Linked DNA regions of Homo sapiens: all the other regions are linked to region 1. The links are contacts of gene promoters, found by promoter capture Hi-C in blood cells and fetal thymus (Javierre and others, 2016). All regions are on one chromosome and are shown on one strand. The core of a region is centred on a gene start or on the middle of the fragment in contact, and the rest is flanking DNA. Distances in the headings are between cores, read along the strand shown. Region 1 holds the start of FASTKD3 (FAST kinase domains 3). Region 2 overlaps SEMA5A (semaphorin 5A). Region 3 has its middle 18 kb from the start of MED10. Region 4 holds the start of MED10 (mediator complex subunit 10). Region 5 overlaps SEMA5A (semaphorin 5A). Region 6 overlaps NSUN2 (NOP2/Sun RNA methyltransferase 2). Region 7 overlaps SRD5A1 (steroid 5 alpha-reductase 1).

Region 1 (3,462 bases), core at 1-2,500:
TTGGTTCTTATTTGATCCTAACGCTAAACAAACTAATCATAGTACTAAAGGTAACTGAAGCACATACTCTCCTTCATTATTTAATGCAAATCAAAAATATGTGAGTGTATGGGCATATATACAAACGGGTGCATATAACGAAAAAATATTTCCAATCCACTTAAACATTTTACTAACACGTTTTTCCGCAAGAGATAAGCAGTAGTAAAACAAACGACACTCACAGATTTTTTTCCATACTCATCTAACGGCTAAAATTGGTGGGCTGTCAATTTGCAGAGACAGATTTAAACTGAAACCCAAACCAAAAGCTTGGCTTTCGGTGAATGAACCGCCCAGAACGGCACCTGGCATGAAACTGGTACTCGATAAGTTATCTGAATGAGTGAATAAACAATATGAAAACACTACACATTGACAGCTCACAGAAAACGGTGGAAACGATAATGAAAACCTTACTACAGCTAAAATTTCTATCACTTCCCATGAAACACACATCCTGAGGGCTTCCCAGGATCAATCAACCCCTCATCCCTGCTACTGCCCCACAATCCGGCACCACCTTCCCACGACTCTCAGCGGAGGCCCGGGCCCCAGCAGCCCCGGAAGCGGCGCGGAGGCGGTGGGCAGAGCTCACGGCCGCGGGCAGAACTCACGGCCGCGTCCCGCCGGGTGGGCGCTCGGAACGTCCCGGGTTCCCCGGAGCGCGCCGCCCCAACCCGGCATGTTCCCCAGTTCCCCGCGTCCCCGAGTGCGGTTTCCCTAGGCCTGGAAAGCGCCTAGAACCAAAGGCAGAACATGAGGAGAGACCCCACGCCGCCCAGGGGCCTCCCGCGGCAGAGGCCGACGCCGAGCCCAAGGACACGCTCCCGGGGACACCAAAGCCAAAGGCCAAAGGCCAAGTCCGAGCCCCAGCCCGCGCCCGCGGCGACCCCCGGAGGCCGAAGGGCGTGGGAACCACGGGCGCAAGCCGGCTGCCCACCCCCGCCCCGGGCCGCCTCTCCCAGGAGATTAGTGCAGGGCGAGCGGCCGGAATCCGGGAACCGTAGCCGACAGGCAGCTTACCCACGCCGCGCCAGCCGGGCACGAACCTGCACAACGCGACTTCCACCAACCTTGCGCCAGCGCGCACTGACGCAGCGCCCATGCTCGGTACCCAGGACCAATAGAAAGCTCCGAAGGGGACCTGGGCCAATCACATTGCGCCGCCCTGAGTCGTGCTCCCGCCCCGCGTTTGCTACGGAGGCCCACGACGCCCAGGCGCTTCCGCGACCACCCGGAGTGATTGCCCGGCAGAGCGCGGTAGGTGTCAACGCGGGGTCTCCGCGCAGTTGGTCCGGCTGGGTGTCAAAGACCTGGCCGGCTTTCTCCTCAGGCTGCGCCGCCCGGCCCGTGTCTCAGCGCAGGTCCCCGGGGCGCCGAGTTTGGGGGTGCTCGCCCCGCGGGTCCCTTTCATTCCTAGGAAAACGCGCCGCGGGGCCTCCCGTCTGTCTGTCTTGCACACACGTGTTGCCAAATCCCCCCGCACCGTCTTTAGATCTGGACTGGCCGCCCCACCTTCTCCCTTCATTGATCTATGTTTTGCTTTTTCTTTTCCTACCTTGTTTCCATTGACAAAGTAGACCCTTTCCTTCAACACTAACCTTCTCCCGACACCGAGGGGAAACCAACAGCTTAGGGCCTTTCCAGCGCGTTTTTACCCTTGCCTTGCTCTAACCTCGCCTAATTTTGCCCACTTTACCTGTTCTTTGATTTCTATCCAAATGCAATTTCTTCCTTCAACCAACATTTAAGGGCCACCCTTAAGAGCTACATTGCCTGAGTTTGAACCCTAGCTCTGCCACTTAACCACCTGCATAAACTGGGCAAAGTAACTTTGTGCTTCAACTTCTTCCTCGTGTAAAATGATAGTAAAAGTACTGAATCTGTGTAAGTTAATAGAATACCTACAACAGTGTTTAGCAAGTAATAGCGATTGTTATTGTTCAATGTCAGCCACTCTTCTAACTCTAGGATGCAGAGACTTTGCCCCTCTGGTGTTTATATGTTAACCATCCTTTTTTTTTTTTTTTTTTTTTTTCCAGATACTCGTTTGTAGTTTCATAAACATTGATGTTGGGTCAATCATGTTCTCAATGTATTTAACCATGTGTTTTTAAATTTTTTAATTTAGTTATCAAATTGAGAATCTGATGGTATGGCATTAATCACCTTGAGGAAGAACCTTTATCGTTTATCTGATTTTCAGATGCATAGAGCTCTGGCTGCTTTAAAAAATAAACCTCTAAATCATGTTCACAAGGTAGTCAAGGAGCGTCTGTGCCCTTGGTTGTGTTCACGACAACCTGAGCCTTTCGGGGTCAAATTCCATCATGCCCATTGTAAAAAGTTTCATTCGAAAAATGGAAATGACCTTCATCCACTCGGTGGACCAGTGTTCTCTCAAGTATCTGACTGCGACAGGCTTGAACAAAATGTTAAAAATGAGGAGAGTCAGATGTTTTACAGGAGACTGAGCAACTTGACTTCATCAGAAGAAGTGCTAAGTTTTATAAGCACGATGGAAACCCTGCCTGACACTATGGCAGCAGGAGCTTTACAACGAATTTGTGAAGTGGAAAAAAAGGATGGTGATCAAGGGCTGCCAAAAGAAATACTGGAGAATAGCATCTTTCAAGCTTTATGCTTTCAGTTTGAAAAGGAGCCCTCACAGCTGTCAAACACTAGTTTAGTGACTGCTTTGCAAGCTCTGATTCTGTTGCATGTGGATCCTCAAAGTAGCCTGTTGCTGAACCTGGTGGCAGAATGCCAAAATCGTCTCAGAAAAGGTGGCATGGAAGTTCGCAATCTTTGTATTCTTGGGGAAAGTCTGATTACACTGCACAGTTCAGGTTGTGTGACACTAGAACTCATTATAAATCAACTTCAAGGTGAAAAATTGGAAACATTTACCCCGGAGGATATTGTGGCCCTTTATAGAATCTTGCAGGCATGTACTGAAAAAGTGGATGAACACCAAACATTTTTAAATAAGATAAACAACTTTTCCCTATCAATAGTTTCCAACCTGAGTCCTAAATTGATTAGCCAAATGCTCACTGCCCTGGTGGTTCTTGATCAAAGTCAAGCATTTCCTCTGATTATAAAATTGGGCAAATATGTCGTGAGGCATGTCCCACATTTCACTAACGAGGAGCTTAGGAGAGTCTTGGAGGCGTTCATATATTTTGGGCACCATGACACATTTTTTACAAAAGCCCTAGAGCATCGTGTAGCTGCGGTGTGCCTCACGTTGGATCCTGAAGTTGTCTGCAGGGTCATGGAGTACTGCAGTAGAGAACTGATTCTTTCAAAACCCATCCTCAATGCAGTGGCAGAAACTTTTGTTTGCCAAACAGAAAAATTTTCACCTCGTCAGATTTCTGCCTTAATGGAACCATTTGGGAAACTCAATTATTTGCC
Region 2 (3,462 bases), core at 332-2,831, 1.7 Mb before region 1:
GAGTACAGCAGCCGTACATCCTGCAATAAATCCTCCATAATTCTTGATTCTAAAATTATACCAATTTTGTATTTAAAAATGTTTCTGCAATTGTTGCTATAGTTACCCAGACAAATTGCTTGGGGTATAATTATACCAAGGTGACAAGTTTTTATGTGTTAAATAATGTTTAAAATGTAAATTATGGTGTCTAACAAATTGAGTTACAACTAAGTACAAAGTGTCTAAAGTGAAGCATTGTACATTTCTGCTCACCTGCATCTACTTGCAAATTTATACCAAGAAAGTTAACTGTTTTCTTGAATCATAAAATGAGCGTCTATAAGTACTTTCAGTTGTCTTGAGTACAGTTGACAACATAGATAATTTCACATATGTTCTCAGCAACCTTTTAAAATTGAGATGCAGAAGTTTGGTTGAAAATTAGGTTTTTATCACTCTGCTACCCTGCAGAAATGATAGGGGGCAATCTCCTGTTTCCAATTCCTGTATAGATTGGGAGCAACTTGGGGATAAATTCAGCAGGTGAGATGTGGCTGCTGGGAAGCACTTTGGAGAAACAGATATGGGTACGCTTGGTAAATATATAGCATATTTTTCAGATGAATTTTTTAAGAATTGGTTATCCAGATATACAAAATCAATTTCTGATAGGGAGAAAAGAAGAAAAAGCAAAATTAAAGTAAGCTAGAATATACATAAACTTTTCAATATAAATGAACCTGCTCAAAACTTGCTTCGATTCAAAATTGAAGCAAAATAGAACAAAACAAATGAAAACTTGACCCAAGAGAAGGTATTGGATAATAGGTAATTTATTTCAACATACTAGTATTGACAGTCTTTGCCATCTAAAAGGTTGTATAGCTAAGGAAACCAGGCTGTCCATTTCACAGAGTATTTTGAAGCCAGGCAACTTCAAAGACAAGTCATATTTCACCTTGTGCATGAAATTTAAAGTAGGAGTGACACAACAGTGGATCAAGAAAACAGAAAAATTTCCCAAAGGAATTGCTGTTGTCATCTTCTTTCTTCTTTTTTGGTCCAAGATTAATGGTTGTTTGACAAGAGCAAAGACAAGCACACTTTATTTCCCTTTCCTACATTTTAAAATGTAGTGACATAGTATTGCTGCATTTGGAAAAAAGAAAATCATTCTGTTTTTAAACTCTTTTTTTCCTTATTGGTTTCCTAGAATTGGTTTCCTGATTAACACTTGGGGAAAAAAAACTATTTTAAAAGAGAATAATTTTTTTAGAGGATGAAATTCTTTTATTATTGAAAGGTCATGAGCCCACTAATCTTTTATCTTCCCATCTTTCACTCATTATTTGTCACTGTATTTCTGTAGAATTGGCTAAACTAGGGTTCATGTAGAATAATGAGGAAGTATACACTGGAAAAATGTTATTTTATGTTACATTTTTATGTACAATTGAGAGTAAATTACACTACTGCAATAGGTAATTCAATTACAGATATGTATGATAAATAACCAGTAGAGTGATTCTATCAGAAGCCAACTCTGTGGGTGAAATAATACTATATTTGTTGAGACGTGAAATTAAGTAAGTTATAGGCGAGTGACAATCAGGATAACACAAGGACAAATCGTTCACAGAAAATCGAGCCTCTTTCAATCAGTTCAAATCCACCCAATGTTTGGCAAGGATGTATGATGTACTCATGGAAAGAAAAACAGAGTCAAGGAAAGCAACTAAGAAAAAATTTGCTAAGCAGTTTCCTGTGATCTGTCTGCAAAATCATAAAACCGAAACTTCTATTCTCCTGAATCACAGCAGAGATGGCATTCCTCACAAAGTGACTTCAAATAAAATTCCACACAAAGAGCTTTTCTTTCTGTAAAAACAAAACAAAACAAAACCGGAGATGTGACACGTCTTGCAGAGGGCCCCCAAAGCTGTTCTGAGCCAGCTACCAAGGCAGCTGACTCCTGCCAGTGCCCCCAAACCTGCTGTGGAAAGAGAACGCTTCGGAGGCCAGGGACATTTATGGTTGGGCATCCTGTAAACAAATGGATTTTAGAATCACAACTGGCTTCCGTGACTCCTTTTACAGGACTGAGATTTAGGTTTGTTGTAAAACTACTGATTTTCTTTTCTTTTTTTCTTATTTTTGAGACAGAGTCTTGCTCTGTCACCCTGGCTGGGGTGCAGTGGCGCGATCTTGGCTCACTGCAACCTCTGCCTCCTAGGTTTAAGCAATTCTTATGCCTCATCCTCCTGAGCAGCTGGGACTACAGGTGTCCGCCACATGCCCAGCTAATTTTTTTTTTTTTTTGAATTTTTAGTAGAGACGGGGTTTCACCATGTTAGCCTGGATGGTCTCGATCTCCTGACCTCGTGATCCACCCGCCTCGGCCTCCCAAAGTGCTGGGATTACAGGCGTGAGCCACCGCGCCCGGCCTTCTCTCCATATCATTTTGCAGAACTCCACGCACTGCCTTTATTTCTTAAAGTCTTTCACTGATACAGAATGTCAGCTTAGGAGACCAATGAGACTGTTTTGTTCGCAGCTGTGTTGCCCACGCTGCCTAGAACAGTGCCTGGCACGCAGGAGGCTCTCGGGCCATCTTGGGTAAGTGACCGAATCAAAAAATGCCCTTAGAGACTATGTATATAGTATAGACTGCAATAGAGTATACTGAGAGAAAGGACTAAGGCTTAAGCAAGACTTTTGGGGGCTAACCATGGACTCTAAAACTACTTATATTCTTTATTTAGAGAAAAATGTTCCAAATGCCTCCAAACTGATTTTTTAGCACAGTCTTAAAATACAAATGTCTTTGTAAACTGGCAGGTGGAGGGTTGGGAGAGGGACTGCATATTTCCTAGTTCCTAATACACAACAATTTGCACAGTAAGTCAGTGCTTGTTAAATGAATTGACGACCTTGCATGACTTGGAGATTAGCATAAATATAATTTCTGTGTACAGATTGAATATTCCTAATCAAAAAATCCCAATTCCACAATGCTTCAAAATCTGAAACTTTCTGAGCACCGACATGACCCTAAAAATGCTAATATATATAATACAAATATTCCAAAATCTGAGAAAATCCCAAATCTGAAATACTTCTGGTCCCAAGCATTTTGGGTAAGGGATACTTAATCTGTATTAAAACACAGAAAAATTGAAATTCAGGGATGTTCTCATTTAAAACAGCACCCTCTCCTCCAAGCACACAAATTCCAGGGAACATATTGTGTCTTTATTACATATGTTTACACATTACAGAGATTTTAGACATCCTAGAATATTTTAAAAATATGGCAGGCTTTTTCTTATATTTCCAAGATCAGACTAATAAGCCTAGTCATGTAGTTGGATTTATAGATTTAATAAGTTGAAACAGAAGAATAGGTAAACAAAATGTGGCCTATCCCTACAATGGGCTACTATTCAGCAATAAAACAAATGAACTCTTGATATATGCTGC
Region 3 (3,462 bases), core at 445-2,944, 1.5 Mb after region 1:
CTTCTGCTTGGCACTGGGTCTGCTTGCCTCTCCTTCTGCAGTTGGCTCCTTGGGGTTTTGTGACCACGTTACATTCTACAAAGCCATTTACTGCCCAACAATTAAGGCAGTCATGTAGGAGGAAGGCTGACTGCTAGGATCCCTCTTTCAGTAGGAGGAAGGCTGACTGCTAGGATCCCTCTTTCAGGGGGCTTTTCTGCCTTTGCATTTCTGTTGGGGAATAGTGTTTCCACTTGGGCTTGTGCTAGGATTTTTCATGATGGATTAAAAAGCGTCTCTGTTTTTCCACTATCGTTGAAGTTTTCCAGGTTTTTTTAGGAGTGAGCCATCTTATACAGGATAATAATGTCCATCATACCTTAAAATTTTGAAAATAATTTTACGTAACTTCTCTCCCTTAATTTAAATATGCACCAAAAATAATTATAAACGTATATTTACACATATGTGTTGTATTTATTTTAACTGTGATTGTCCTTTACTGTTTCATGTAGGTTTGCTGCAAATTAGGAAAGGTTCAGCTAAGAATGAGATGCAAAGATAGAAATTAATTTTTCTCCTGCAACAGCAATGCTAAGCTGTCTGCCCAGACAGCAGTAGCTCCTCACAGGCATCAGCCAGGACCCAGGCTCACCTGTCTGCTCTGCCATCCTCAGCATGGGTTCTGTCCTCACATTACAAGATGGCTGCTGCACCTCCAGGCATCACGTTTGCATTCCAGGCAGGAATAACATAGAGGGAGGGCAAAGGCCGACGGGCAAAAAGATTTCTCCTGTGGAAGCTTTGCCATTTTATTCTGGAAGGGCTGTCTTTCTCATGGACTTCTGCTCACATCTCATGGACAAGAACACTGTCGCATGGCCCCCCGCCCCCGATTACGAGGGAGTCGAGTGATCTTAGGTTTAGCTCTTACAGTCCTTAGAACAGAGGCAGGCAGGGGCAGAGAACAGAGGCAGGCAGGGGCAGAGAACTGAGGCAGGCAGGGGCAGAGAACAGAGGCAGGCAGGGGCAGAGAACTGAGGCAGGCAGGGGCAGAGAACAGAGGCAGGCAGGGGCAGAGAACTGAGGCAGGCAGGGGCAGAGGGGACTGACAAGGAATGGGAGCTCTCAGGCAGCCGGCGGGGCCTGCTCTGGCACCTTCAGGATGAGGATGGCCTGGATTTCCATTCACTGGGTGCTCATGTTGGCCCTTTCCTGTAGAAACTTACTTTGTAGGAGTGACTTAAGGCTAAAAATTGAATTTCATGTAAGTAAATTTAAACCCCGGATGCGTCATTGTGAGTTTTCAAGTTTAGTTTATCTGATGAGCGCAAGGCCCAGCACTGCGCCTCAGTCTAGACAGAGTTTGGAATAAGAAGCAGCAGCCATCCACGCGGGGCTGTCTGCAGGCTCCCTCTGGGAGTGCTGAGGAATGGCATGGTTGGTGACAGTGCTCACCAGAGGTTGCGTCCGGGAGCTGCAGAGGAGCTGCTTTGTCCGTCCATGGCCCTGCCCACATCCACGGCTGCTGCCTCCCTGGCTGGCCTCACCTTCGCCTCTGCCTAGAGTAGTCTCAAGTCAGGGCATAGATGCTGGCGGGACCGAGGTAAATAATCCGACTGGAAAAGCAAGCAGGAGTCTTCCCGATTCTCCAGGTGGGAGGATTCCCGAGTCTCAAGCTGGAGTCCTGGGAGGCACAGCCACTGTGAGGTGCCACCTGCAGCCGCAGGCAGATGGGTCAGGGAAGCAGGGCCTCCTCTGCCTGCAGTGGCTGCAGGACTCGTAGGCGTCACCCTCTTTAACGCATCACAGCTAGTTTATTTTCACCTTTTCATGGGCCATCATCTGTTCCTAACCTCCTGTTCCTCTTCTCAAGGTTGGGGGAGGTGGCTCGATGCAAAGACGGCCCCAGGGCCTGCCACATCCTGCCTCCTCCTTCCAGCTCTCTCCCCTCTCCTTCCTGCCCAGCCTTCCTCTTGAAAACGCCCTGAGCCCTTTTCCTGTGCCTTTCTCAGCCACCTGCCTGCAGAGGGGCTGCTGATGAGGAAGAGATGGTCCCTTCCCTGCCTGCGCTCCCGTGCTCACTCTGCGTGTCCACCCCATCAACCCTCCAGGGACGCTTCTTTTTCTCCCAAGATATGTTAGGGGAAGAGGCACGTATTTTAAGGTGCCCTCTGGGCAGTCTCTTTGTGCCCCAGCATTTATTAATTTGCAGCCACATGCAGCCTGGAGTGTCAGAGTCCCAAAGGGATGTTAATACAGTCGTCCACTGATTTAATCAAAAGCAGCAGCTGGGGCCCGGGGTGCGGTCGAGTTATGAAATTAAGACACAGTGCAACACACAGGAGGGCCTTTTATGCAAACTGTTGGTCTGACCACTTAAAAGTTTGGGATGTGAGTGAAAATTGAATGTTCATCCTCAGATGTGTAGCATGCTCCACTGTGAAACTAATTGCATTTCAGTAGCACGTGGAGGCCATTATCATTGCTATTATTAATAACCATTTATTAACTGTGCACAGTGTGAAACCAGAGAGCTTACTCAGCACAGAGCCCTCCATTACAGAAACTGGGCATACACAGGATCGATTTGGACCTGTTTTTTATTGCTGCTCTTGTTAAGCTTAAATAGTCTTTTGTTTGTACAAATGTTATTTTTGTGCAGCGAGCAAAAGCAGATAGCGTACTTAACACTGCTGTTTCGCACACTTGTTTTTCATGGTGAAAAATGTGAATGGTGCAGAGCTTCCAGACCCAGCCTCAGTGTTTTTAACCATGGACATCCTCCCAGGCAGACCAGATGCCCTCTACGCGTAATATTCAGGTTTGTGCTTAGAAAAATACATAGAGGATCGCATTATACACACCCTTCAGGGTTTTGCTTTTTTCGTTTGAAATACCTTTGCAAATCTTTGTCAGCAGGGGCAGGCTGGCAGGCCCGTCGGTGGTGCCCATGGCATGGAGGAGCCGCAATGTGCTTAGACTCTAGGATGCCAGCAGTGCCATGGGGTATGCCATTGTTCATTGTCCTGGACTGGCATCTGTGGAGTCCCTTGGGATTAATTTCTTAAGATGGAATTATGTGTACTTAAATGTTGCTAATTATTACCAAACTGTGACCCAAAAAAGTGTCACCAATCAGCCCTCCCAGAAATGGCACGGGGAAGTGTCTGCTTTGGTTCATCATGTTTCTGAGCTCCCAGCTCTCTGGCCCCCTCTGCAGAGATCGACCACTAAGGCTGTTTATTGAGTTTATTGAGTGTCCTTCTAGACTTTTTATGTATGCCACACTCATAGGCATGCTTATTGTGTCTCTCCTAATTCTCCTCAATGGTTGTGACAGTTTCTCCAAACTGGGGCCCAGGATGGGTGGGATCACCTGTGCGGTGCGGAGCTTGGAGCCATGGCTGCAGGGAGCTCAGGAAACCAGAGACTGGTCCCCTCTGACCCGCCCGGTGGGACCCCTGCTTTCCTATGGGGACA
Region 4 (3,462 bases), core at 553-3,052, 1.5 Mb after region 1:
TTTTCCATAAAGGCTGCACTAATTTACATTCCCATCAACAGTGTACAAGGGTTCCCTTTCCTCCACATTTTCACCCACACCCATTGTCTTTGGTCTTTTTGATTATAGCCCTTCTAACAGTGTAAGGTGACATCTCATTATGCTTTTAATTTGTATTTCCCTGATGATATGTGATGCTGAGCATTTTTGCTGGTCATTTTTATGTCTTCTTTTGAGAAGTATCTGTTCAGGTCCTTTGCCCATTTATAAATTTCTTCTTTTGCTTTTTTGCTGTTGAGTCGTGTGCCTTTAATTTTTGCACTTTACGTTGTGAGTTTTATTTTCCATGCTTGTTCTTTGCTTCTTTATTCTCTTCTTTTCTTGCCTTCTATTGAGTTGATTGTGTTTTCTTTATTCCCTTCCCCCTGTCTACTAGTTTGGGAATTATATATACTAGCAAAGAGATACCCTTAAATTTTTAAAATAAATACTTACCAAAGCCTAAGTTCCATCAATTATCTATCTTTCTTACTTATGAAATTGAGAAAGGCCGTTCACTCCATGTCGCTACCTCTACCTAATAACTTAAAATTTTTTATTTGTCTAATATTTTATTTCCACCTTTTTTTTTTTTTTTTGAGTCTTGCTCTGTTGCCCAGGCTGGAGTGCAGTGGCATGATCTCGGCTTACTGCAACCTCTGCCTCCTGGGTTCAAGCAATTCTCCTGTCTCAGCCTCCCAAGTAGCTGGGACTACAGGCGCACACCACCATGTCTGACTAATTTTTGTATTTTTAGTAGAGACAGGGTTTCTCCATATTGGTCAGGTCGGTCTCGAACTCCTCACCTCAGGTAATCCACCTGCCTTGGCCTTCCAAAGTTCTGGGATTACAGGCCTGAGCCACCACGCCCAGCCTCCATCTTGTTTTATAATTCCCTAAAGTTAATTGTTGTTAAATCAGGAGAGAAGTATTTTATGTAACATTTCTGTTTATCAGCCCAGCCCACCAACTGGAGTGCCCTGATTCCATAAGTTTGGCAAGTCACTTACCTTCTCTGGCTTTCCATTTCTGGTCACAGCTGGGAGAGGCTCTGAAGATCATCTAGCAAAGGAGCTCCCTCACTTTGCCTGTTTCTAGGCACTGAAAAGTACAGGCCACAAATATATTCAGTAAAATAAATCACTTGAGAAATTCAAACAGGCTAGAGGAGATATCCGCTATCATAGGAGATCGGGCAGAAAAGTTTCTTAAACATAAGAGTGAAATGACCTAAACTGAATTTCAATGAGATAAACAGCAGTTTACTAAGACAGGGCAACCCCACAGGGTGCTGTTTGGTCAGAATTGGCCCGAGGAGGTGAGACCCTGACCTACGAAGGCAGCAGGTGTCCGGGAAGCATGGTTAGCAGCAAGAGCTAGGGGAGGTGGCCGCCGATTACATAGAAGAAAGGAGGCAGGCAGGCGCTGATCCCAGGGGTTCTGGTAGAGGGGCAGGGAAACTACCGTTATTGGTCCTTCATGCAAACTTTAGGATTTTCATCCATGTGTGTATTGCTTGAAGATGCTGCATTGCAGAAAGTCTTCAACTTCTCCCATGACCGAGGCAGGTCTGATGAGAGTGCAAACAGTTAGTACTCGCCCAGCTGCGCGCCGAGGCCTCCTCCAGAATCCAGACCGCATCCCCGAAAGCCCGCCCTGCCCCGCACTTAGGCCCCGCCCCAACACGCCCGTCCCGATAACGAGGCTCCGCCCCCAAGAGCTCGCCCGCGCTCCCCCAGAGGAAACGGAAGTCGTATCTGTCCGGACGGAAGCAGGAAGCGGGAGCGTAGGGCCACGCCTGCGGCGCTGCTGGTTGAGGCTGTGTGGGTCGGGGACGGGCCGAGGCGATGGCGGAGAAGTTTGACCACCTAGAGGAGCACCTGGAGAAGTTCGTGGAGAACATTCGGCAGCTCGGCATCATCGTCAGTGACTTCCAGCCCAGCAGCCAGGCCGGGCTCAACCAAAAGCTGTGAGTGGCGGCCCGAGGCTGCCGGGGTCTCCCCAGGGCCTGGCCGGGAAGCGTGTGCTAGGGGAGCGGGGATCTAGGGAGCCCGAGCCGAGCCTGACCGCTACTCGTGCCCCGCCAGCCCTCTGGTCTGGTCCCGGAGCCCGGGGCGCCTTTCCTGGCTGTGTTCAGAGGGCGGGGCCCGCGCTCCAGCCTGTTGCCAAGAGCCAACCTCTTTGAGGCCCCTTTGGAGACGTCGTCATGGCCAGATGATATACTTTACGTTTCCCTATCAAGGGAATCATGCTTTCTCTTCTAGCGTCTCCCCTCTCATGTGTAACCCCCTCCCAGCCTTTTCCTCCTGGAGCCCTTCTGGGAATTCAGTCCCTGTCTCCAGAGGGGAGGCAGGCTCCACAGTGAGTGCACGCCCTAAACTAGGCCTCAGAAGGTGAGGCTCCGAAGCCACCTGCCGCATAGGCCTGACAGTGGAGGAAATAGCGGGGAGGTGGTGCTGAGAAAGGTTGCAGAACGTTTATTATTATTATTTCTTGGCAACAGCCTTGTGCTGCCCATGTTGCTAGGCCCTGGGTTGGAGAAAAGGCAAATGCAAGTACAGCACTTTCGAGAAGGGCTTTATATGTGGCACGGACATAGAAAATGTTGCACTCGAGGTTCCATACCTAGTGCTGTGGGAATAGCCAGACCAGCCTGATGCTGTAGGAAGGCTCCAGAGAGGAGAGGAAGCTAAACCAGACAGTATGGCTTTCTTTCCCTCAGACTTTGAGTATAGTCCGCTGCCTCATGTGTTCGCTGAAACCGCACACACAGTCATATGCACAGTCAGGTAATTGTTTTTGAGAGAAGGTTCATATTTTTCATCAGGTTCCCTCTCCATCCCCCTTACTGGCAATTTCTAGTTGAGAAGGAAAGTAACAAATATTTAAGGGTATTTTGTAACTCTAACGGTGTCCTAGGAATCCTGTAGCTAACCAAAGAGGTCAGAACCGTGTGTAACCCGCATAGCTGTGAGGAGAACGAACTTGCGTGGAGCCCCGGTTGGCTGGGTAGCTCTGTGGGTGGTGCTTATGCTGTCAAGCGAAATTAACCAGATGCCTGTGTGTTTGCCTTTCCCCCAGGAATTTTATTGTTACTGGCTTACAGGATATTGACAAGTGCAGACAGCAGCTTCATGATATTACTGTACCGTTAGAAGTTTTTGAGTAAGTAACATTCTTGATATTAGTCTTGGGTATAAATCTTGTTCAGTTATGGTGTGGTATCGTGACTTCTTCATCACTGGCATTCGAGTGCCTGCTGTGTGGTAGGCACAGCCTGGGTGCTGGGGATGTGCCAGTGGAAAAAAAAATAGACAAAAATACAAAAATACCTGCCCTTATGGAACTTCCGTTCTAATGGCATTACAAAACGAAAAAAAAGAATATCCTTAATATTCTATTGTGGAAAAAAAGTTACATGTAAATAAAAGCTTATTAAATATA
Region 5 (3,462 bases), core at 439-2,938, 1.3 Mb before region 1:
TTTAGGGGAAGCCAGCCCATTTCCCCTTGGTAAAAGTGGTTCCTACTTGAATCAGCAAATTCATGAAAGTAGTGTATTTTCAATGGGTCATATTCCCCAGGAAGAAGGAAGGAATCAAATGTGCTAGAACTGTCTTTCCACTCCTACTGCAAGGGTCTTAGCAATAACTTTTTTCTGTCAAGGGGCTCAATGAGTGACACACCTGAGGATGCAAGGCCCTGATTGCTGTGAAAATAGTTACCAAGGATGCACTTGGCTCCAACTTCCTACCCCATCCCACACCACACACCCAGGAAACGGAGTGATAAGTTTTTCTTTAAAACTCTTTGGTGTCTCTCCAATGGCAGTTGAAATCCATACTCCTTGTTATGGGCTCCTGGCTTTGCCTGGCTTTCCACCTCCCGTCCTGTTGATCTCTTTGATCCTGACTGTGGCTTCATTCCATTCCTTGCCAGCCTTATGGTCTTCTCCCAGGCTGCTCCTTCTGGCAGGGATGTTCTCTTCCCCCATCCTTGTCTGGGTGGCCCCTTCTCAGCCTCACCTCTGCCCTTTCCCTATTCTCTCCTTTCTGATCCTCTGTTTCTCCCAGCTGCCCTGGCCCTCCATACCCTTGTCCTCACTGTAAGCACTTGTTGATCTGTCTTGTTTGTCTCCTCACACTGCTCTTGAGGGCACGGGCTGTGTCTATCAGTTTACTAAGGAGCACCCAGTGCCCAGGACAGCCCCTTGAGGCAGTGAGGAAATGCCTAGAGCAGTACTCTGGCCGGCTCCAGGCTCGTCTGTAGCATGGTCCCTGCCACTGTGTTTGGTTTCAGGCTTGATGGAATAAGTGTAGATCTTAATTTGATATACGGAATGCATACTCAATGAGTTATCTTATTAATTACTGATACTATTTACTCACATCTGTGTTTATATTAATTTTTGGAGTTATTTTTAATAAATAGAGGTCTGTATTTTGATGATTACCAGCAAAGTGCGTTTGATTCTCACAATGATACTGTATGTTGGATGTTGTTGTTATTCAAAAACAGGAAACAGAGAAAATATACTGGTAAATAATGTGAGTAAATTCACACAGCCAGTAGGTGGAAGTATTGAGCCATGTATACATATATCTCTATACTCATGTATGTGATACACACATATACACAGACACAAATGTGCGCATCCATCTATTAAAATCTATCTATTATCTATCTATCTATGTATCTATCTATCTATCTATCTATCTATCTATCTATCTATCTATCTATCATCATCTGTCTTTTAGTAGAAACCTCAGGAAAAGAACTTTAGCCTACCAGTAGCTTTTAACCTATGTTTAATTTAATTTAATTTTAAGTTATCCGCTTTTAATTTTAATGAATATCTAGATAAAAATAGATTTGCCCTGGAAGCTTCTACAGCAGTTTTATCTACATAAACTGTGACAATGGAAACAATGTACCCAATACAGAGAGGGTCTAAAATCAGGGAATGCTTATGGAAGGCATTTTGTACTGACTGATACCAACAATTTAGGAACAGAAAACTGCTGGCTGTGTGTCACATCTGAATATTGTTTCCGTTAACTCATCTTATTTTTGTGAAATAGCTTGCTATTTAAAAACTCAGCATGGTAGACCAGGGGCAGTGGCTCATGCCTATAATCCCAGCACTTTGGGAGGCTGAAGTGGGCGGATCACCTGAGGTTGGGAGTTCAAGACCAGTCTAACCAACATGGAGAAACCCCATCTCTATTAAAAATACAAAATTAGCCGGGTGTGGTGGTGCACACCTGGAATCCCAGCTACTTGGAAGGCTGAGGCAGGAGAATCTCTTGAACCTGGGAGGCGGAGGTTGCAGTGAGCTGAGATCGCACCATTGCACTCCAGCCTGGGCAACAAGAGAGAAACTCTGTCTCAAAACACAAACAAACAAAACTCAGTATGACTTATTTATGCTCCTAAAATTCTAATGACCTTTAAGCTTTATATATATATATATATATATATATATATATACACTTGATCATTCATTATCATTATGTGAAGTTCTGTTCAACAGAAATTATTCCAAGGGACATTGAGAGTAAATAAATGGTGGCTACTATTTTGCAGTCAAAAGCCACCTTGTGCGACACTTGCCAAAGTCAGGCTGGAAAATGCCTGTACACGATGCCAAAATAATAATAGCCACCATTTATTGGCATCCTGCTATGTATCAGCCCATTTAATTTTCACAGCTTTGCAAACTAGGTCTGATTGTCAGATGCAACAACAGAAAATATCAGATGTCAATGGTCCAACCAGGGCAGAGTCACAGGCATCGTGTACAGGCATTTTCCAGCCTGACTTTGGCAAGTGTCTCACAAGGCGACTTTTGACTGCAAAATAATTTATAATTGACTTTGATTCTAGTAAGATTTTTGTAGAGTTGGGATTCCTTTGTGCCTTTAATATTCATTCCCATTGTGTACAAATATTTTTATATCAAGAACCTATTAAAGATCTGCTCAATGATCAGATCGAGCCATTTGAATATGGTGTACCCCCATATTGATGCTTTAGGCATTGGAATAGAAAGAATATAGAATGGGAGGCTTCTTTTGGATTCTCAGTATTTGGTTTTGCGTGGTCGAAATCTCAAAATTTTTGATGTTTTTCTTCGCATCACTTGTAATTACATATATGGTGAGTCACTTCTCGGTAGTCCTATCTGTATGGTCACTATTATGTAAGTAAATATGCAAAATAAAAGTTCTTATATCATGAAGAAGAATTCTTATTAACATGATATATTTTGTACAACACGGTAATACATAACTCAGTATGTTTTACAAACATTAGAAAAAACAGTTTCTCCATGCATATGTTTACACAGCAGCTGACGTGCCTGTTTTTACTGTGATTTAGTTAGCAACATACCTCAGATCTCTCTTTCATGCACTCCTATCCATTGTAGACAAGAAGAAAATACCTGATTTTCCTTCTGACTTGTTCAATTCACTCAGGAGTGACAGATACTAGTTTGTGGTGGATTGCATTTTGAGAAAAGACAGAACTTAAATAATGGAAGGAAAACAAAATTCATCTTATCATCCTGCCTGGCAAGACTCTAACATCCCCTACTTCCAAATTTATATCAATAAATATAAGAGCTATTTGACTGTCTGTCTTACAATTATTCCCACTTTTTCATTGTCTTTGAAAAAGGAACAGGATGCTAGCCGAATTTCAAGAGGCTCTACTTTTCAAGAAACTGTGTTTCCCGAGTTAATGGCAGGTCACACAGTCAGGGGTCCACCCTCATCCTGAAGGATCAGTGTAGGGCCGCATGATGTGTTTCCAAATGCAGTCTCACTCCCTGACCAACATGACCTGCACTGTGTGGTGAATTAGAGAACAGCACTCACTACACACTGAATACAAATTATTTTGTTGTTTTTGCAAACCAAAAGGAAAACATGTATTTGAGCAT
Region 6 (3,462 bases), core at 1-2,500, 1.3 Mb after region 1:
ATAATTGCCATGGTGTTGGTGATACTTTATTCCAAAAGGTGTGTGAGGGGGAGTATGGGGCACATAATAGTTTAGTTGTAATGAAATTACACCTTCAAGTGTGATTTGGGGTCAGTTGTTAGGACTGTTGAATCCTGCTCAGATTTTTGTGTTCATTAGCTAGGAATTTAGGAAACCATGATTCCAGGCAGCTTGAGCAGCACAGACACCTCCTGTTTCCCTTGCCACAGTCTGCTTTCAGATCCCTGAGAAAGAAAATGGACTGCATTTATTAATTTGCATGCCTAGTTGCCATTTACGACTCAGACTTGAGGGTGGGCCCCAGTTCCTGGGCGCACTCACTGCATTCTTGGCTGGTGCTCTTTGTCTTTTGTAAAGACAGCTTCCCCCGGTTTCTCGGTGAGCAGCTTTCTTGACTTGGGGTGAGTGGTCACAGCCCCATCTTGTGCTGCTTAGCTTCAAATGTTTGTAGATTCTTTAAGCATTTGCTACTCTCCTAAGTCTGTGTTGGCTAGTTAAGTACTCTAGGTGTTTAATTTTGCTCCTTTTTCTCTTGTAAGCTTTTGGCTGGGACCAAAAGCCAGGTCTCCTGAGTTCTTAGGTGAGAGAGGCTCTTGTCCACACAAGCCTGTCCTCACTCGTGGCTGGAGTCACTCTTTGCAGGCAGGACTTGCTGGCCTGAGTCCACCGGGCTTTCTTTCCTCACATTGGAGATACTTGCTGTTTGCCTGTCTCATTACCGCAAAATTGTCCCCGCTCAGAGAACATGCTGTGTGCTCTGTGGGCTGGCTGTGCTGTCAGACCGGGTTACTTGCCTGGAGCTCTGGATGCTTCTGCCACCCTCACCCATTTCCTGAACGTGCCAACGTTTGAAGGAGTGGCTTCGTGAGGGGTTGTCATCTGAAAGCAGGTTGAATCCAAGTTCTAGTTCTCATTCCCATGGGTCTCTCTTTCCAGCAGCAGTGGGGAACCATCATTCTCCTGAAAACCCACTGATCTCTAAGGGAAGAGTGGACAGAACCTCACACACAGTGCACCATGTTCGAAAGTTAAGAATGAGCAAGCGTGACCCAGGCACGGGGGAGTGAGGAAGAGCTGCAGGGTGAAAAAGAAAACGGGAATGCTGGTGATCAGGATTGTGAGGAGGGATGAGCAGATGTGGGATTGTCCTGGGGTACTGATGGGTTCGTCTTCATCCGGTCTGAAACCTTTCTTGATTGTGGATTTTCATTGGTCTTTCTGATTTTCAGACTGGCTGGCTGGTTCTTTTTCTTGTATTTAGAATGTTACTGCTGGTTTTCTGAGTGAACGCTTGCAGATCTTTTCAGACTTCACCAAATTTGTGGCTCTAGTTGGCTTTATGTCTGTCTATATGTGTGTGTTGTGGGTTTTTTTTTTTTTTTTTTTTTTTTTTTCCGAGACAGTCTCGCTCTGTTGCCCAGGCTGGAGTGCAGTGGCGCCATCTCGGCTCACTGCAACCTCCATCTCCCGGGTTAAGTGATTCTCCTGCCTCAGCCTCCCGAGTAGCTGGGACTACAGGCATGTGCCACCACGCCCAGCCAATTTTTGTATTTTTAGTAGAGACGGGGTTTCACCATGTTGGCCAGGCTGGTCTCAAACTCCTGACTTCAGGCAGTCTTCCCACCTCGGCCTCCCAAAGTGCTGGGATTACAGGTGTGAGCCACCATGCCTGGCCTGGCAGGCTTTCTTTTGAAAGCCCAGTAAATAACACCCTCTTTCCCTGTCCAGCTTCTGAACCAATTGACAAGGTAATGGAGCAAGGCAGACCAAGGCCAAAATCGCACCTTTATTACCAATAGAGCAGATGATATGCTTTCAGATACTTACCTTTAAAATGAGGCTTATCTCCTCATTGTCACAGGTCACAGAAGGTGTTAGACTATGGCATGCAGTTGAGCTTTGTTCTAAGGGCAAGCTTCACTGCAAGACAAGAAAGGAGACAGTATGCTCAGGTTCTTTATTCAAATTTTGGAATCATTTTAGCTTTCTGAGATGCCAGGGGAGATACCTTGGGGGTGGAGGGAGTTCTTGGTCAGGGGCTGGCTTCTGCCTCCACATAGGAGATTTCAAAGAACAGCCAGCACCGTTTGGCCAGTGGGTTTTAAGTATAAGGGCATTCATATTTAGAAAAAAAGTACATGGATTCTTTTCCTTCAAGTAACTGCATTGCTTTTTGCAACTTTTCCTCTAGTCTTCACTGTGTTGAATAGTTTTGATTGTGTTGTGTATATCTTAAATACCCTGCTTTTTCACCTAACATTCCAATATGTCATAGTAGTTTTTCCTGTTAGCAAGTGTCAAAAATGAATTACTTCATTCAGTGAGTCTCCTATTCTGTAGTCATTTTCTTACTGGACAGGTGGGTTTCCAGCATGGACCTGTGTACAGTATGATGTCACAGCCAACTTTTTGCATGTGGGTGGCTTCAGACCGTATTGTAGATGCTTCCTCCCTTTTCTCTGTCAGAGGCGGTGTGCATGGATATGGCTTTATGCAGGAAGGAGCAGACCTTGGCTGAGCCTTAGAGTGGGTGGTTGCTGGTGATTTTGACTGGAGGGGGTGTGCGTTCCCCACCTGAAAGTGCTCAACAACTTTACTGGAGAAGGGGCAACATGGGGTAGCATTGGCAGCTTCCAACCCAGGTGCTGGGGTGTGGAGATAACACCTGCTGCCTGCCCTGCTCATCTGTGAAGCCCCTGGACAGTGTTTGATGGAGAAGCCCGCATGTTTGCCTGCACTGTCATTTACTGTTAGCTTTTAAAAGGAAGAGGATTCAGAAATGATGGCAGAAGTCAGTACGATGCTTGCTTCAAAGGTTTCTTACTGCCATTCCTCCACCTTGGAGATTCTTTTCCTTTGTTTTTGTAATTGTCCCATTTTCATGTTTTCTGGGAGATTTGTTGAATTTTCCTCTGCTGAGAGGCTGTCACATCAGTATCTGTGCTAGTAGCTGGTCTCACTGGTTTCCTGTAATGGCCTCACCTTATAGCTTCTTATTGTGTCACTGGTATGGACACTTAAGGCCAGTGTGTTTTCACAGCTCTTATCGCATTGTTTTTAAAACTGGGCTGACTGTGTCCCGATGGGCAATTTTAGGAAACTTCCTGGGACCACGAACTTGAGGTTTAAAAATTCCCATAGTTCATTTTCAGCATTGCTCTGGGATGTTTGTTAGACATGCCTGCGTGAAGACCTGCAGCATCGCCCTGGTGTGCATTGGAATGGGGAGACGGAGCAGGCGTCCTGCAGCCCAGCCTTCTGGTTGTCTTCTTGCGGAGTTAGTCTCGCGTCTGTGGCAGGACTCCTCAATGCCCTGTCATTGGAACAACTTTATTGAGCTGTCGTTTACATATTGTTAATGTTTGCTCATTTTAAGTGTACGGTTCAGTGATTTTTAGTAAGTTTACTCAGTTGGCAGCGCCTTACCACAGTCCAGCTTTA
Region 7 (3,462 bases), core at 324-2,823, 1.2 Mb after region 1:
AAGCAAACACAGATTATCCATCTAAGGAAAAAGAAAGTGCCCTATAAGCACCCAGGAAGAAAAATGGATTATTGAAAAGAACAAAATCATCGGGGCTGCCTCCATGTCCATTCTTACTGTCCGCGAGGGCTGTGGGGTGGCACCCACACAAGGGCACTGAGAACTCTGAGCTTCTCAAACGTCTGCTCCTAAGCAGCACTTGAGTGATTTCTCCAGCTATTCAAACGGGCAGAATTACCCATACAGTATAAACCCAAGTAACTGGTAAATAACTGTTCATACTCATATGCTCGATGGGACCTGCTCCAAAGGGGAAAGACTCAAAATATAGCACAGTATGCATTCCAGAGGATGAAAATGCAAGCAACTACTTGGAATGACTATTCTTTAAAGCGTTTAAAGTAAGATGTTTGGGTTTTGTCGTCTTGCAAGCAAGTTCTATGCCTGTTTAATTCACACAGGGAACTAAAGAAGTATGTCTTGAAATATTTTCCCAACAAACTGGAATAATAATCCCTTGGTTTACTTATAACAACAAGGCATTTATTCAGCAAATGATTTGACTCTCAAAGCGTCTGGACGTCATCTTTCAGGACAACCTATAATGTTGTACCCCCAAGTTTGGGAACAATGAAATAGAGAATTTGGTTATATGGGAGTAATTTAGGTCATGGTGGATTTAATAATTTTTAAATGTTTAAAACTGAGAGTGGTTAATTTTAATGATCGACTTTATTGCTTTTTTCCCCTAACAACGTGAGACCATTGAAATCTATGGCACTTCCTAGATTTGGGTCTGTTCCTTTCACCTAGCCTTTCCTTCTGTAAAAGACTTTTGAAATGATGGCCAAATTGCACAGCTGCCAACAAAGCATGCTTAAAATAAGTGCTTGGCTATCATTATTTCACTTTTCATCATCCTACACTTTTGAATAGAAGTTTTTCTTTTCTCAGATTATTCCAATCTATGAGGCAAGGGCCAAGGATTCAGTATGCCCTTATTAAAACAAATTAATTAGAAGGCCATCAGGCTGAGATGGTGTCTTGTGTCTTACATAAGCACATGGAAACCCAACAGTGGAAGGAAACTTAAAGCAATCAGAAACTGCCAATTGACTTCTAATGAGAGATTGTTCCAAGGAGAAACCACCCACTAACCTCCGGAACTTTCCACTCTGACCAATCAAATGCTTCCTTTGTCTTGCTTGTGCAAACACGTCTTACAAAATGGCTTTCCCACACACCTTCTAGGTGGAGCTCATACTGCTTGTGGTTTGGTGCTGATTCATGAATTGGTCTGCTCCAAAAAACGCTATGACTTCTTTTTAAGATGGAGTTTAGTGCTTGTTGCCCAGGCTGGACTGCACCTCCACCTCTGGGTTCAAGCGATTCTCCTGCCTCAGCCTCCCAAGTAGCTGGGATTACAGGCATGCGCCACCACACCCAGCTAAATTTTGTATTTTTAGTAGAGACAGGGTTTCAGCATGTTGGTCAGGACGGTCTTGATCTCCTGACCTCGTGTGATCCACCTTCCTCGGCCTCCCAGCGTGCTGGGATTACAGGCATGAGCCACTGCGCCCAGCCTAAAAAAACTACAATTTTAATGCACCTGAGTTTATCTTTTAACACACTTCACCCTCAAAGTTCCCTGCTGTGTTTTAACATTACCCACCGCACATTTAAAAGTGAAGCTGGGCTAGGCTCCCCACAGGAGCCCATTAATAGGATTACACGAGAGATACAAGGAATCAAAGTAGGTGCAATGTTTTGAGGCACCATCGTCAGAGATAAAGACAGAAGCAAAGTCCCACAAGGTCATGGACCTGGCTGAGTACAAACCTGGGACAGGTGTCAGAAAGAGGAGGCCTCTGGGCATCTGACTGTGCACTCTGGGCACCATTTGGCCACCAGTCCTAACAAAGGCAGTCACTGAGGACTCCCGTGGCAAGCGGCACCTCCTGCTCAGGCTCCTCGGAGTTATTTGTTAAATGAATGTGCAATGCAGAGACAATCCCCTGACTAATTCACTGCTGATAGTGGGGAAGGAAAATCCATGAGCAAAGCAGCCTGGGTTCAGGGAATACTGAACAAAGCTGCGTGGGTGGAGAGAAAGAGCATGAGGTCAGGCACAGTCTGCAAAGCCCCCCAGCGACTCCGACACAGTTCAGAGCTAATGCCCTTGACTCCGGGAGACTTTTGCTGTGTCTAGCAAAGCAGGATTTACAAACGAGGGTAGAGAAAGACCAGTGGGGAAGAGTGAAGAAGCCCAGCAAGAACCAACACAGATGATGAGGACCTGGGTTACAGCACCAGCCCAGGGAGACAAAATAGAGGGCCAGGGAACAGGGTAAATGCAGCGGGGCGTCACTGTAATCACAGAGCAGAGGGCAAAGGTGATAGGAGTAGGCACAGGCTTCGGAAGGCCCTAGGGAGGCCTGCCAGGAGGCTGGGGAAGGCACCTGCCTCCAGGGGCTGCCACCATGCCAGACGCCACTCCATGCTCTACATGACTAGGGCCCCAGTGAGACGCTGCCGCCCCTGCACCCAAGAACCCAAGCGCCCTGGGATCAGAAGGAGGCTTCAGCACAGATAGGAGGCAGGCAATCCTTGTCGCTACCGTGAGCCCTAAAGATGTTCCTGAAAATGTCCTTTGCCCTCCTGGGGGAACTGGTCAGGACCACAGCTCGTCCTGCGTCATGGCTATCCCCCCACCCCAGCCCTGTCCCCTTCCAGGCAGCCTGTCCTTCCCTCCCTGGTGTTTGTGTCCAAAAGACCCCATAGATTCTCCATAACCTGTCTTTTACTCCTCAACTCAAAGGGAATGTCTTGTCACTATATCCCCAGCACAACGCCAGGTCCAGAAATCCTCACTGGCACGTAAGTCTTCCTTAAGTGTTTGCTGAATAAATACATGAAAGCGCACCATTCCCTCTATCCCTTCCTTCACCTTTCCTCCCTCCTTGACCTGACTGTCCTGTACTCATTGTTCCCAGAACAGTCAGTTGCTCTGGGAAGAGCTGTAGCTCTGCTGCTGCCTTCAGGCCTCATGGACTGTGGAAAGTCCCTGGACCTGGCTCTGGTCCTTGCCACTCCCAAAAGAGGCTCTAGTTCCCCAAGGCAGGGCCCAACCTCACTCCAGCGAAACCTCACAGGTCAGCACAGGGCCTGTGTGCACACCTGTCAGGTTGTGTAAGGTGGTACTGGCTCTGCCTGGCCAGCGCCTCCTCAGGCTCACTTTTCTCCTGCCTTTCATAAGAGTCATCCTTGTACCCACAGCCTCCTCTCACCGGGTGTGGTGTTCTCCGTTCTCTGCAGGGCCCTGTGCAAATAAAGGGCTCCAGGACGCTTCCAGGGGCTGCTGGGATGGTTTGTGTTCAGTGCTAAATGCTGTTTCCACTCTGGTTCTCTTCCAAGTGCTCATGACTTAGATCAAGTGACTGTTTAATAAATTAGTTGCTTGGG

What was found. The method cuts DNA at HindIII sites, captures the fragments that hold promoters and counts their contacts. A CHiCAGO score of 5 or more calls a contact.
Region 2: a fragment that was not itself captured here is called in contact with the fragment with the promoter of FASTKD3 in region 1 in 1 of 17 cell types (non-activated CD4 T cells); the score reaches 7.5 in non-activated CD4 T cells.
Region 3: a contact is called between a fragment that was not itself captured here and the fragment with the promoter of FASTKD3 in region 1, in 5 of 17 cell types (total CD4 T cells, activated CD4 T cells, non-activated CD4 T cells and 2 more). The highest score is 10.8, in total CD4 T cells.
Region 4: a contact is called between the fragment with the promoter of MED10 here and the fragment with the promoter of FASTKD3 in region 1, in 9 of 17 cell types (activated CD4 T cells, naive CD8 T cells, naive CD4 T cells and 6 more). The highest score is 20.0, in activated CD4 T cells.
Region 5: a fragment that was not itself captured here is called in contact with the fragment with the promoter of FASTKD3 in region 1 in 3 of 17 cell types (erythroblasts, endothelial precursors and M0 macrophages); the score reaches 8.7 in erythroblasts.
Region 6: a fragment that was not itself captured here is called in contact with the fragment with the promoter of FASTKD3 in region 1 in 8 of 17 cell types (naive CD8 T cells, activated CD4 T cells, total CD4 T cells and 5 more); the score reaches 11.9 in naive CD8 T cells.
Region 7: a contact is called between a fragment that was not itself captured here and the fragment with the promoter of FASTKD3 in region 1, in 13 of 17 cell types (total CD4 T cells, naive CD4 T cells, naive CD8 T cells and 10 more). The highest score is 18.0, in total CD4 T cells.

What each region holds. Positions count from the first base shown.
Region 1 is chr5:7,866,819-7,870,280 of GRCh38, reverse strand. It overlaps FASTKD3 (FAST kinase domains 3), which reads left to right and starts at 1,250. Exons shown (of 7, transcript NM_024091.4): 1 at 1,250-1,302; 2 at 2,085-3,462. The coding sequence starts at 2,198. MTRR (5-methyltetrahydrofolate-homocysteine methyltransferase reductase) reads right to left here and starts at 1,133. Exons shown (of 15, transcript NM_002454.3): 1 at 1,066-1,133. RefSeq lists silencers at 631-680, 741-790, 801-1,240. The HindIII fragment of the contact is 2,367 bases long and covers 314-2,680 here.
Region 2 is chr5:9,539,273-9,542,734 of GRCh38, reverse strand. The region is part of intron 1 of SEMA5A (semaphorin 5A); the gene reads left to right. Among named protein-coding and RNA genes, the nearest start is that of SEMA5A, 5.1 kb to the left of the region's middle. The HindIII fragment of the contact is 4,663 bases long and covers 1-3,462 here.
Region 3 is chr5:6,358,539-6,362,000 of GRCh38, reverse strand. No RefSeq gene overlaps it. Among named protein-coding and RNA genes, the nearest start is that of MED10, 18 kb to the left of the region's middle. The HindIII fragment of the contact is 1,821 bases long and covers 784-2,604 here.
Region 4 is chr5:6,376,887-6,380,348 of GRCh38, reverse strand. MED10 (mediator complex subunit 10) reads left to right here and starts at 1,802. Exons shown (of 4, transcript NM_032286.3): 1 at 1,802-1,987; 2 at 3,100-3,183. The coding sequence starts at 1,866. RefSeq lists enhancers at 1,348-1,567, 1,858-2,067. The HindIII fragment of the contact is 6,030 bases long and covers 1-3,451 here.
Region 5 is chr5:9,205,647-9,209,108 of GRCh38, reverse strand. The region is part of intron 8 of SEMA5A (semaphorin 5A); the gene reads left to right. Among named protein-coding and RNA genes, the nearest start is that of MIR4636, 150 kb to the right of the region's middle. The HindIII fragment of the contact is 571 bases long and covers 1,403-1,973 here.
Region 6 is chr5:6,612,049-6,615,510 of GRCh38, reverse strand. All of the region lies in intron 9 of NSUN2 (NOP2/Sun RNA methyltransferase 2), which reads left to right. Among named protein-coding and RNA genes, the nearest start is that of NSUN2, 19 kb to the left of the region's middle. The HindIII fragment of the contact is 1,376 bases long and covers 563-1,938 here.
Region 7 is chr5:6,636,179-6,639,640 of GRCh38, reverse strand. The region is part of intron 1 of SRD5A1 (steroid 5 alpha-reductase 1); the gene reads right to left. Among named protein-coding and RNA genes, the nearest start is that of SRD5A1, 4.5 kb to the right of the region's middle. The HindIII fragment of the contact is 4,539 bases long and covers 1-3,462 here.